3 separate regions of the Homo sapiens genome follow, and regions 1 and 3 are each linked to region 2. Evidence: promoter capture Hi-C in 16 types of primary human blood cells and fetal thymus (Javierre and others, 2016). All regions are on one chromosome and are shown on one strand. The core of a region is centred on a gene start or on the middle of the fragment in contact, and the rest is flanking DNA. Distances in the headings are between cores, read along the strand shown. Region 1 overlaps DIRC3 (disrupted in renal carcinoma 3). Region 2 holds the start of IGFBP2 (insulin like growth factor binding protein 2). Region 3 overlaps DIRC3 (disrupted in renal carcinoma 3).

Region 1 (4,348 bases), core at 1,537-4,036, 900 kb after region 2:
ACAAGAAAGACTACAGAAAATAGACATCCAAAGAGATCATAGGATTGATCTCCTCCTCAACAAATCCACTTAATGGGTAAAAGTGGTCAGAACAAAGTGTGCTATGATTCCAGAAGAAGTCAACGGACTGGGCCAGATTTCCTCCAATCTACGACAGAATCTATGAGTAGCACGTTACTCTGTGATTCTTAGGAAACATCTTCTCTTGTCCTATAGTTCTTAATCAGCAGACCTGTGACCACTGGGAGAGGTCTGTGATTACTGAGCAAAGTTGACCACAGAAAGAATATCCATATTCTCAGAACCTCATCATGACTAATCTGGGAAGCAATCTTGGAATATCCATGTTTCCTGAAAAGAGTACAGAAGCCGTGGAATCAGGACCTGAGAAGGCTGTGTAGTTCCTGGCTTTGTGACCAGGAGACTCTCTGGAAGTCAGTCTCCTTATCTGTAAGAAAAGACAAGGAAATAATTCTTATCTAATGAGTTCTTGGGAAATTGGGAGGAGATAATTGATATGTGTCAGCATGTTGCTCAGCTCCTGGGTATGGTGCCTTCCATCACGTCAGATAATCACCATCTTGCAAGAACAAGGGCAGGGCCATGAAGCAGGCCAAATGCCAGAAGACTGTCTGGACCTTTGCAGGTACCAAACACATCCTTGTTGAATGAATCAATGCAATCATATCTATGGTTTGTGGCTAGGGCAGCCAGAAGATTGGTAGACTGGCATCAGTAAGAGCTATCTGGACATATAGGAAGTGCTTTCCAATTGTTGAGTCGCAGAGATCTTAACAATCCAGAGATATTCTTTTGGGATTGGATAATACTCACAGCTTCCACAAAAGAACCTTGCAAAAAGTTGTGGAGGCTTTACAAGACTAGATGGAGCCAGGCCTCCATCAGCCAATTCTGGAGAAACACTTGTATGCTGGAAAACTGTCCCTGGGACAAAAAAAAAAAAAAAAAAACAACAACAACAACAACAACAACAAAACAGCATGACACTGATACCAACATTTTAATCACGATAATTATTGTTAGTGCTTGGCACAGGCAAACTCCTAATCTCTGTAACCTGGTAAGGGTTCTTTTCTAACCAAGGACTCAAGGATCAAGTTGTCTCTTCATCTCAGCATATGCCTTTCATGGTTGCCCCAGCAAGGTAAAGAAAGATCGAGGTAGCACAATGCCTCTTTACTGCTTTGGCCCCAGTATGGCACAGATCATTGCTGATCACAGCTATCGGCCAGAACTAATCAAATGGGCCTAATCCAACTGCAAAGGGAGCACCTGAATAATAAGTGAGCGCTAAATGTCTCTACCACTGCTGAGGACTCAACAGAGGGGCAGTCTGATGTCTCACCATGCTGATAGCCAGGAAGCTCTGGATTTCCTCCCTCTATGTTTTAATGACTTAACCAGGGGTGGTAAAGGAGGCCTTTAGAAAAGATTCTCAAACACAGGGGCCCAGGGATCCCTGGGAATCATTTCTTACTTTGCCATCATCTTTTCTCCCTTTTTTTTTTTCTAATAGATAGCTCTCAGAGGGGATTACCAAAGCAATTTTATGGTCTTTATAGCTGGTTCTCTCCCCAGTAATTCAGCTGAGAGTCAAAGATCACAGAAAACCTGGCACCTCCCTCATCTCACTATCTCTCTGGAGAATGTGGGCCCTCCTCCCTCTCTGGAATACATGGAGGCCGCCAATTACAACATAGATTCTCCTGCCAGCTTCAGTGCTGTCTGCCAGGAGTAGGGCTACTCCCAAGAGGTTGACAACCTAAAAGGCCTTCATCACTATTCAGAGAGCCATAGCCCTGGTCCCCACAAGACTTTAAAAATGGCTCCCTTTGGGTAATTTCTAGTGCTGCTTTGCTGAAGCTCCTTGCATACCAAAGTTTATAGCAAGAACCAAAGCACCTGCCATGCCCCACTCCCACCCACCCCCTTCATACCCTTCTCCCTTGCTCTACCATCCTTCACCTGGGCTTCTGACTCAGCCTGCAGATAGCCTACAGGTCAAAGTCCACTTCCACCTGACCAGCCTGTGACTCTCTGAAAAACAGACCAAAGCTAGCCTGAGGCTTTTAGGGGAAGGAAACATAGGCAGTTTGAAGTCCTAGGGGCTGAAAACTTAGGCCTACGTTTCTGGCTATACTTTGCCAAGTTTTTTCCATGAGCATGAGACTGTGGCAATTCTGAATTGTCCAATCCCTGGCTGTGGTTCAAGCCACACTTCTAGTCACCTTCGCAATACACCCCTTACCATCTCCAGCTCCCCGACTGCCCTCCATCTCCTGGACCTCTCAGAGCCCCAGAATTTTCCTGCAGCCAACATATTGAGAGTCTTGTAAAAGCTGAATACAAGAAGAAGAAAAAGAGAGGCCAAGCTTATTAAACTCCTCTTCAGCTGGCTGCATGGATTCTTTTAAGTCCACTGTTGGATTTCTTTGAGGTCTCAGTACGTGCTGACTTGCATGGCTGGTTTGGGGGATAGGGAAAGGAGGTAAGAAAAGCTTTGCACTGGATAAATAAAAATCCCTTTGTTAATTAAGGAGACATTAACAAGACCATGGCCTATATCAGGCAGCCTACACAGAAGGTTTGATTCTTCAGGAATTAAAAACAAGGAAATAGAGAAACTCCCCCACCACACTGCATAACTTTGTTCTAGGGCTGCTAAGTTATTCCCTGCTACTACATCAGCTGTGAGAGCCCTGTGAAATATGCTGTGGTTAAAATAAACTCAAGCACCTAAGCATATTTTTTTAGATGTGTTAGGTTATCTAAAACAGTTCATCTCCTCTATCTTCTCTTTGAAAAAAAGCCTAAATTATTAATTTTCTATCCAGTCATTTTATGTTTTCCTGCCCTGTCTGTCCTCTTCATAGCAGCCCAATCTGAATGAGAGACATGAACAAAGTGATTTAAGAATTGTTGACTGGAAAAGGAGTAAGGTGATACACCAATAGCCCTGGTCCACACAAAACCTTACAAATGGCTTCCTTTGGGTGATTTCTAGTGCTGCTTTGCAAAAGCTCTTTGCATGCCAAAGCTTATAGCAAGGACCAAAGTGCCTGCCATGCCTCCTGCTCCCCACCCCCTTCATAGCCTTCTCCCTTGCTGTACTAGCCTCACCTGGGCTTCTGAATCAGACAGGTTAGGATCAGAGGTCCAGGTCTTCCTCTCTCATGGACAGGTTGCATAGCCTGTTTGAGATTGGATTTCTTCATTTATTCAGTGTGAGCAGACTATGAAATGTTGGAGATTATATGTGATTGTTTATAATGTTCCTAATACACTCTAGGTGTTCAATCAATTACACATTGAAGAATGGCATTATGAAATCACATTGTTATTATTAACACCACCTTCCACTCTTTCTTTACTTCCCTTGAACAGATCCAGTCTACCCCAAAAGGACCTTAGCCATTTCCACATAACCTAATCAGTAAACTGGGCTCATTAAACTTTTCTAAAAGATGTGAATAGGGCAGACAGAAATTGATATGGTTTGGCTGTGTCCCCACCCAAGTCTCTTCTTGAACTGTAGCTCCCACAGTTCTCAAATGTCATGGGAGGGACCTGGTGGAAGGTAATTGAACCATGGGGGCAGGTCTTTCCTGTGCTGTTCTCATGACAGTGAATAAGTCTCAGGAGGTCTGATGGTTTCATAAGGGGGAGTTTCCCTGCACAAGCTCTCATTCTGTCTTTGCCTGCTGCCATGTAAGACATGCCTTTTGCCCTCTGCCATGATTGTGAGGCCTCCCCAGCCTCACATGGAACTGTGAGTTCAATAAACCTCTTTTTCTTTATAAATTACCCAGTCTTGGGTATGTCTTTATCAGCAGCATGAAAATGGACTAATACAGGAATACAACAGCCTCAGGTCACTACAAGCTCAAATTAATGCCCTGCCTTCTGAAAAATTTACACATCTCCCTCCTCTTTCCACTTATTGAACACTTTTATATGGCTGACCCTTTGCTAAGCTCTTTGCGTGCATGGTTTCAACTGGACATCACAACTCTGCTGTTTACAGGAACCCTGGGATCCTGGCTGCTGAGTTGCTTAGAGTCTCTCCAAATTTAACCACCAGCCTGCTATAAAAACCTCTTGTAGCATCCCCAAACCCCAAACAGATCATAGAAACTCTTAACTTTGGGCAGACATCATGCTTTTTATGTCACAGAAGCCAGTCTCATGAGTTTCTGGGTAACAGTCACTGGTATGTAATCCTCCCAAAATCCTCTCCCATAGGACATTACTTGATTGCTCCCTCTGGGTATGAGGTGTCCTAGAACGAGCCCGGCAAGGACACCAAAATTGTTTTCACAAAACCCTT
Region 2 (4,000 bases), core at 1,501-4,000:
CAGCTCCTGGGCATTGCAATTAAGACAGAAAGAGAATGAGGGGCCCTGCCAGGAATATTTTGAGAGACTGTACTTTTCATTCACTCAACAAATATTTATTGAGTGCTTACCTGGTGCCAGGCAGTATTTAGACCTGTGGGCTGTCCAATTTGATAGCTACCTAGCCACACATGGCTATCAAACATTTGAATTTTGGCTACTTCAAACTGAAATGTGCTGTATAGCATACACATCAGAACTTGAGGATTTAGTATAAGAAAAGGAATGTTAACTCTCTCATTAATTTTAGTGTTGATTACCCATTGAAATGATAGTATTTTGGATATACCGCCAAATTAAGAATATTATTAAAATAAATGTCATCTATTTCTTTTTACTATATTTTAATATGGCTACTAGAAATTTACAATTGCACATGTGCTCACGTTTGCGATTTGCAGTAGATTTCTATTGGACAGCGTTGTGCTAGACCCTGTGCCTACTCTGTAGGAGCTCAGTGGGTGGGACCAACAGAAACACGTTACAAAGCAGGCAGGAGACACCAGGGAGAATGAAGGTGGAATGACCATGATCCTTCCTGTGTCTTATTTTTATTTTTTTTAGATTGGCACTGTACATAGTGCTTTTTACTTCTTTTTTTTTTTTTTTTCAGATCGGCACCCTACATAGTGCTAACGATTTTTTTTTTTTTTTACTTTTTTTTCAGATCGGCACTCTACATAGTGCTAATGATTTCCAGAAGTCCAGCTCTGTCCATCTCTTCCTCTGCTCAAACATGGATGCTGTATCCTTACTGCCCAGCATATTAAGCCAAAGCGCCACAGTCAACTGGATTTCCTGCCTCCCCTGCTGCTCTCTGCAAGCATCCTGCACTCTGGCTGAAGTGGACTTTCTGATCCCCAAACTCATTTTCCCATTTCTCTCTCTCTCTCTCTCTCTCTCTCTCTCTCTCTCTCTCTCTGTGTGTGTGTGTGTGTGTGTGTGTGTGTGTTTTGAGACTGATTCTTACTCTGTCACCCAGGCTGGAGTGCAGTGGTGCGATCTTGGCTCACTGCAACTTCCACCTCCTGGGTTCAAGCGATTCTCCTGCCTCAGCCTCCCAAGTTGCTGGGACTACAGGCGTGCATCACCGTGCCTGGCTATTTTTTGTATTTTTAGTAGAGATGGGATTTCACCATGTTGGCCACGGTTGGCCAGGCTGGTCTTGAACTCCTGATCTCAGGTGATCCACCTGCCTCGGCCTCCCAAAGTGCTGGAATTACAGGTGTGAGCCACCGCGCCCGGCCCCATTTCTGTGTTTTTGCTTCAGGTGGTCCCTCTGCCTGTGCCCTTGCTAACCGCCCATTTCCTCTGGTAGAATTACAAGCTTCAATTTCAGCTCCGACTCACCCAAGAAACTCCCCTTTCCTCAACCACCACATCACCTCTCTACCAAAATATTTCTTTTCTTCAAAGCCTCTGATAAACATTTATTTATTTATTTTTTATCTTACCAAAGTCTTTCCCGATAACTCTTCCCAGCTTGGCGTCTTAAGACCAGGTACTTGCCTTCCTGGAGGCATCTAGGTCACCTTCAGAGCCAGGTGGCCATTGGGTTAACTAGCTGTTGAACTGAATCAAACAGGCTCTGAGCCTTGAAGTCAGAAAGAGCCAGAGTGGAGGGGTCTGGGGGGAAGAGGGGCGCTGAGGTATAGGGAGATGAAACCTGCGGTGGAGGCAGCTTAATGGTCCACCTGTCACCCAAGGAATCTCTCTGACAGGGGTCTTTGTTAGGGTCACACCCCAGGAGATGGTTGATTATGGCTGAGTCCAGCCTGGAATGATGGGGGTTGGGGGCAGCTTGGGTAGATGACTCAGTAAATCAAACAGAACAATGAAAGGAGGTCATGCTTGTCCATCTGCATTATTGAAGACAGCCATAAATGGCCTTACCCCAGAGCGGGTCTGTCACACCTGGAGAGCTGATCTGACCTCTCCAAGACCCCTGCAACTGAGTGTTCTGGGATCTGTCCTGCAACAAGTGCCTCGAGATTTGTAGGTGGGGGCCCAGGGTGCTAAGGGATTATTTTAGCGGGCGGAGAAGGGAGGGGGTCTGCAGACGAAGGGGGCAGGTTTTGCGGGGCACTTAGGGTTCTCATAGGTTGTAGTCACGAGCTCCCAGGTTTGGAAAACTGCAATAGTCACTAAGACCATTCGGGGCTGTTTGGGTCTAGCTTGGTCTAGACGGGTCTGAAACTCCGCAGGACCCACCCAACAAGAAGTCATTGTTCCAAGCCACGTGTCAGTGGTGGGTGATACCCCAGGATGGAAGGAGTTGGTATGAGCCGACTGAAATCTACTTGAAGGTCAAAACGGAGCCTTATGTCTTTTGTGTTCCCCAGCGGTTAGCCCAGTGCCGGCCACAGGGGAAGCGCGCAAACGAAGTCCTCGCGAACTGAACTGAGAGCAGACAAAAGCACGCGCTCTTCTCCACCGCCACGCCGGTCCTACCCAAACCCGCGAGTTATCCGTATTCTCCTTCAGGAGTCATAGTCAGGCCAGAAGAGTGCGGAGGGACGGGGCCCGGGAAGAGCAGGGAACCCCCAGAGCCCGCAGCCAACGCGGAGGTGGGCGAGCGGGCGTGCGCGCACTCACTTGCCGGCGCGAGGGAGTGTCGGGGGGGAAGGGAGTGGTCTCCAAAAGGGGGAGGGGAGAAGGCAGGGGGCGGGGAGAAGCCGGCCCTTTAGGACCCGGCTGCGGCGGCGAGGGAGGAGGAAGAAGCGGAGGAGGCGGCTCCCGCGCTCGCAGGGCCGTGCCACCTGCCCGCCCGCCCGCTCGCTCGCTCGCCCGCCGCGCCGCGCTGCCGACCGCCAGCATGCTGCCGAGAGTGGGCTGCCCCGCGCTGCCGCTGCCGCCGCCGCCGCTGCTGCCGCTGCTGCTGCTGCTACTGGGCGCGAGTGGCGGCGGCGGCGGGGCGCGCGCGGAGGTGCTGTTCCGCTGCCCGCCCTGCACACCCGAGCGCCTGGCCGCCTGCGGGCCCCCGCCGGTTGCGCCGCCCGCCGCGGTGGCCGCAGTGGCCGGAGGCGCCCGCATGCCATGCGCGGAGCTCGTCCGGGAGCCGGGCTGCGGCTGCTGCTCGGTGTGCGCCCGGCTGGAGGGCGAGGCGTGCGGCGTCTACACCCCGCGCTGCGGCCAGGGGCTGCGCTGCTATCCCCACCCGGGCTCCGAGCTGCCCCTGCAGGCGCTGGTCATGGGCGAGGGCACTTGTGAGAAGCGCCGGGACGCCGAGTATGGCGCCAGCCCGGAGCAGGTTGCAGGTAACGCGGTCTGGAACAAGTAGTTGGGAGAAACTTGGAGGGCAGCGGAGAAGCCCGACGGGCGGCTGGACCTTACGGACGGTTTTAGGGGCGGCAGAGCCGAGACCTTGGACCAAATCAAGGGGGACTGTTGCTAGCGGGACGCGGAAGTCAGGCCCGGGGAGGGGAACTGGAGTTAGAGCAAGTGGAAGAGCCCTGGCGACTCATTTGGTGGGGATGAATGGGGAGAGGAAAGGCATCCCTGCTGCCATAGTTTTACCCGCGTGGAACGGACCCAGACTTCTATTCTGGAGGAGGGATTTGCTGAGAAGGGGGCCGGTGGTCAGATCCATGGGAGTAGGAACTCGAATCTTATTTGGGGCACTGCTTGAGGACCCAAGGGTCCTGGTGGGATCGCTGCTGGGAGGCGGAGGCTGCGGGGTGCCAGTGACACCAGGAACCTTGGAAGAGGAGAGGGAGCTAGGAGGAGGCACCGGCGTCCCAAGGGGCCCTTCCTTCTACTGGGGTTGTGAGTTGGAAAGAAAGGACTTGGTACTTTGTAGGATGAGTCGCTTAGGAGAAAAATGAAAACCACCACTACTATTTCTCCATAGGGAACGAGCAGGGCTCTTGCTACCACGTTGAATGGAAAAATAAAAGGGAGGCATTTGGTAGGCGAGGGGTCTCCTAGCAGCTGAATCAATGTAACTTAAGCCCGATCGCCG
Region 3 (4,373 bases), core at 200-2,699, 870 kb after region 2:
AAATTCACGATTTTTGCTTTTTTCTCAATTTTTAAAAATGTTTTATACATTAAGGAGAGGGCATTTATCTCTGATGCATGTTGCAAATATTTTTGCTTTTTTAGCCACACAATTCTTTATTAATTTTATGTAGTACAACTCCTCAATCTTTTCTTTCATTGTATATGGATCTTTAGTCACATTTAGAAAGCCTGTCCTATATTCAAGTTACAAAATATTCATTCATGTTTTCTTCTAGTATTTGTATGGATTGTTTATTATGTATTTTTCCATTTAGATTTCTCGTGCCTTCAGAGTTTATTATGGTATATGGTGTAAGGTGTGGATCCAGTTCTGTCTTTATCCAAATAGTTGTCCAACTGTCCCAATACCATTTATTCAGAAGTCCATACTTGCCCAATGATTTGAAATGCCATCTATATCAAATAATACATTTTTATGCTAGCTTAAATCTATTTCTGGACTTTCTATCTTGTTCCTCTGATCTCTCCATTCATGTGCCACTACCATACTGTGTTAACCACCAAGCAGTTACAGTACGTTTTAGTATCCAAGAAGACCAATCTCCCCTTATTGCTTCCCTCATCCCCCCTGTGTAGGGTCTCCCAGCCATTCTTGCATGTTCACTTTTCTATATAATTTTAGAATCAACTTGTTTAGGTCCAGAAAACAAAACAAAACAAAAGCTTGTTGACATTTTTCTTGCATTTAAGTTAAATTCACATGTTAACTTGAGAAGAGCTGACATCTGTATGATGTTGAGTAGTTTCTCTCCAAGAAGAACAGATGCCTTTTTACTTGCTCAAGTCTACTTGAATGTCTTTCTGAAGTGTTTTAGAATTTTCCTCATTTAGATTTTGCATATTTCTTTTCAAGTTTCACCTCTTTTTGTTGTAATTATAAATGGATGTTTTCTCTTCCATTACATCTTGTAATTGGTTATTTTTGTATATATGAAAGCTATTGATTTTTATAAGTTAATTTATATCCTACTGTCTCATTGAATTCCTTATTTAATTTCAATTAGTTTAATCATGAATTCTCATGGGTTTTCAAGCTTTACTATCATTTCATCTGCATAGAGAGTTTTTGCTTCTCAAATTTTTACACCTATATCTAATTGTATTGATTAACACCGACAAGACAATGTTAAATAGTAAGGAAGATAGCATCCTTATCTTATTTCTGGCCTTAGCAGGAATGCCTCCCAGGCTTCTCAATTAAATAAGATGCTAAGTTTAGGACAGAGGTACACGGATATGCATAAAGCACATATACACATGTACACATATGTAAACTGCGTGAAGTCTTTCTTTTTGAGTGCATTTTTTCTATTTCTATTTAATTGAGTGCATTTTTCAGGAATGAGTGTTGAATATTACTGAAGGTCATTTCAGCACCTATGGAGATAATTGTTTGATTTTTCTCCTTAAATCTATTAATAAGGTGAATTATATAAATTAATTTCTGCATATTTAAAGTCTGCATTCCTGGAATTTGATATTGATGTTTTATTAATATGGTGTTGGAAACTTTTGGCTAGTTTTTTAATCTAATTTTAGCATCTATATTTATAAAGGTAATTGGCTTGTAGATTCCTACAATAATAATGATCATTGTTATCACCATTAATATTAATCTTTATTAGGATTTGATAGCAACATTATATGGAGAATTTGGAAGTTCTCCATTTTATATACCTTGGAACAATTTATTTGAGATTATGTGATCTTTGAAGATTCATAGAATTCCCTTATGAAACCATATTGGTCCAGTGTTTCCACGTGGAATAATTTTTGACAACTTTCTTCACTTTTTTTCTACTCTGGAGAATGGTCTGCTTAAGCTTTCTATATCAAATGGGACCTGTTTTGGTAAATTACATTTTCATATGGTATAATCAATTTCATAGTTTCCAAATGTATTTACATAGAGTTTTGCAAAGTAGTCAACCTGTGATTTATTTTCCTTTTTATAATGATTATTTCCTTCTAGTCTTTTCTTATTTTGTATATTTGCTCTTTGCCTTTTTTTCTTGATTAGGTTAGTTATCAGTATATTGTTTTTCCTTTTTTCCCCAAAGAACCCATGTGTTAGTCCATTCTCATAGTGCTATAAGGACATACCAGAGACTGGGTAATTTATAAATGAAAAGAGGTTTCATTGACTCACAGTTCCACAGGGCTGGGGAGGCCTCAGGAAATTTACAATCATGATGGAAGGGGAAGCAAACACATCCTTCTTCACATGATGGCAGCAAGGAGAAGTACAGAACGAAGAGGGAGAAAATAGCCACTTATACAACCATCAGATCTCGTGAGAACTCACTCACTACTATGAGAACAGCATAGAGGTAACTGCCCCCATGATTCAATTACCTTCCACCAGGTCCCTCCCACAACACAAGGGGATTATGGGAACTACAATTCAAGATGAGATTTGGGTGGGGACACAGCCAAACCATATCAACCAGCATTTCGAATCATTAATTAGTTCTTTTTTTACTCTTTTGTATTACATTAATTTCCTCTTTTATCCTTATTATTTCCTGCTTTATACTTTCTTTTTATTTACTTTGTAATTTTTCTCGGTTTTTAAGTTGGGAATAAAATTTATTTATTGTAATTATTTTTTATTGATTCAAATATTTAATCCCACAGATTATCCTCAGATCACTGCTTTATTTCTCATTAAATCAGATGTGCATATTTTTATTCTATTATTGTTTTTTGAAATTCTGCAATTTTAGTTTGTATATCCTTTTTCACCCAATAGTCATCTAACAGATGTTAATTTCCAAGTAGAAGAACGTTTTTAAATTTTCTCATTAATTTCTACTTCATGGAACTCACTCAAAAACTTTCTTTGTGACTACAATGGGCTGAATGCTTATGTCCCCCTAAAATTCACATTGAATTGAAATCCTAATTCCCAAGGTGGTGGCATTAGGAGGTGGGGCCTTTGGGAGGTGATCAGGCCATCAGATATCTACCCTTATAAGTGGGATTAGTGCCCTTATAAAAGAGACCCCAGAGAGCTAGCTAGTCCCTGTCACTATGTGAGGACACAGCAAGAAGGTGTTGTCTATGAATGAGGAGGTAGGTCTTCAACAGACACCAAATCTGCTGGCACCTTGATCTTAGACTTCTTAGTCTCTAAAACTGTGAGAAGTAAACTTTTGTTGTTTCTAAGCCACCCAGTCTCTGATATTCTGCTATAGCAGCCTAGAGGAAGACAGTTACTCAACATGAGGTCAATTTCTGTGAACATTCTATTTGTGCTTAAGAAGAGAGTATATTCCCAATATTAGCAAGAGTGGAGGTTTCATATATATCTATAATGTCTACCTTATGAATTATGTTGATTAGATTTGAGTGTCTTTATTTTACGGTTTCCATTTGTCTGGAATACCTCTTTATTCTTAGTCTTTCTGAATCACTTTATTGTAGGTGTGTCTCAAATGTATCTCACAGAATTGAGTTTTGCTGTATGAGTCAATTTGAAAATATTTTTAATTGGGGATTTATGTAATTTATTAATAAGCTTATCAATAAATTATAATATAATAAATATAATTTAGTAATATGACTGATGTACATGGTCTCAACTTGTATTCTGTGTAAAATTATGTATATAATTTTTCTTTCTCAGTGTGGTTTATTTCATGTGATATTTATTTTTTGATATCTAGGAAGATTAATATCTTTGTTGCAGTGCTTACCTTTTTGCCACTACCTATTATAATGCCCTTAGTCTCTTTTCTCACATTTACTCTGCTACTTAGTGTTTTATTTGCTTCAAATTATATTCTTCATTCCCACCTATTGTCTATGCAACAATAGGTCACTTCAGTTTTGTCACCACATATAACAGTTGAACTGTTCTTCCCCCCATGACTCTGTCCTTGTTTAAGTTACAGATTTACATTGAAATATATTCAATGCTCACACAGTCCATTTTCCAGAGTTCTTCAGGTCCAGGTCCTATCTTGGTTAAATGATGTTTTTTCTATAGTAGGACCATTAAAGTTGGATAGTGATTGCAGTGTTCTCTGGGGTTCTGCACATAGAAAATCGCTTGATACTTGAAGCTTAGCTCATCTACATAAAAGCTATTCCACAGTTCCTTTAGTTTCCTGAAGATGTGACTGTGTTATTCTTTTACTTTAGATGAGAAGTCCGATTTTCTTTCCTATGTAAGTGATTTGATACTTTTGCCTGGAGATCTAGAAAAATTTTTTCTTTATCTTTAAATTACAATATTTTCCTAGTATATGTCTTGGACTTCACCATTCCAGGTTTATTTTCCCAGGGATACTGAGGAGCCTTTAAAGATGCAGATTCAAGTTTTCTTTTAATTTCAGACATTTCTCT

Evidence for each region. The method cuts DNA at HindIII sites, captures the fragments that hold promoters and counts their contacts. A CHiCAGO score of 5 or more calls a contact.
Region 1: a contact is called between a fragment that was not itself captured here and the fragment with the promoter of IGFBP2 in region 2, in 1 of 17 cell types (erythroblasts). The highest score is 5.8, in erythroblasts.
Region 3: a contact is called between a fragment that was not itself captured here and the fragment with the promoter of IGFBP2 in region 2, in 1 of 17 cell types (fetal thymus). The highest score is 5.7, in fetal thymus.

The regions. Positions count from the first base shown.
Region 1 is chr2:217,528,880-217,533,227 of GRCh38, forward strand. The region is part of intron 2 of DIRC3 (disrupted in renal carcinoma 3); the gene reads right to left. Among named protein-coding and RNA genes, the nearest start is that of DIRC3-AS1, 250 kb to the left of the region's middle. The HindIII fragment of the contact is 539 bases long and covers 2,518-3,056 here.
Region 2 is chr2:216,630,670-216,634,669 of GRCh38, forward strand. It overlaps IGFBP2 (insulin like growth factor binding protein 2), which reads left to right and starts at 2,751. Exons shown (of 4, transcript NM_000597.3): 1 at 2,751-3,296. The coding sequence starts at 2,855. The HindIII fragment of the contact is 7,523 bases long and covers 1,365-4,000 here.
Region 3 is chr2:217,505,955-217,510,327 of GRCh38, forward strand. All of the region lies in intron 2 of DIRC3 (disrupted in renal carcinoma 3), which reads right to left. Among named protein-coding and RNA genes, the nearest start is that of DIRC3-AS1, 230 kb to the left of the region's middle. The HindIII fragment of the contact is 789 bases long and covers 1,056-1,844 here.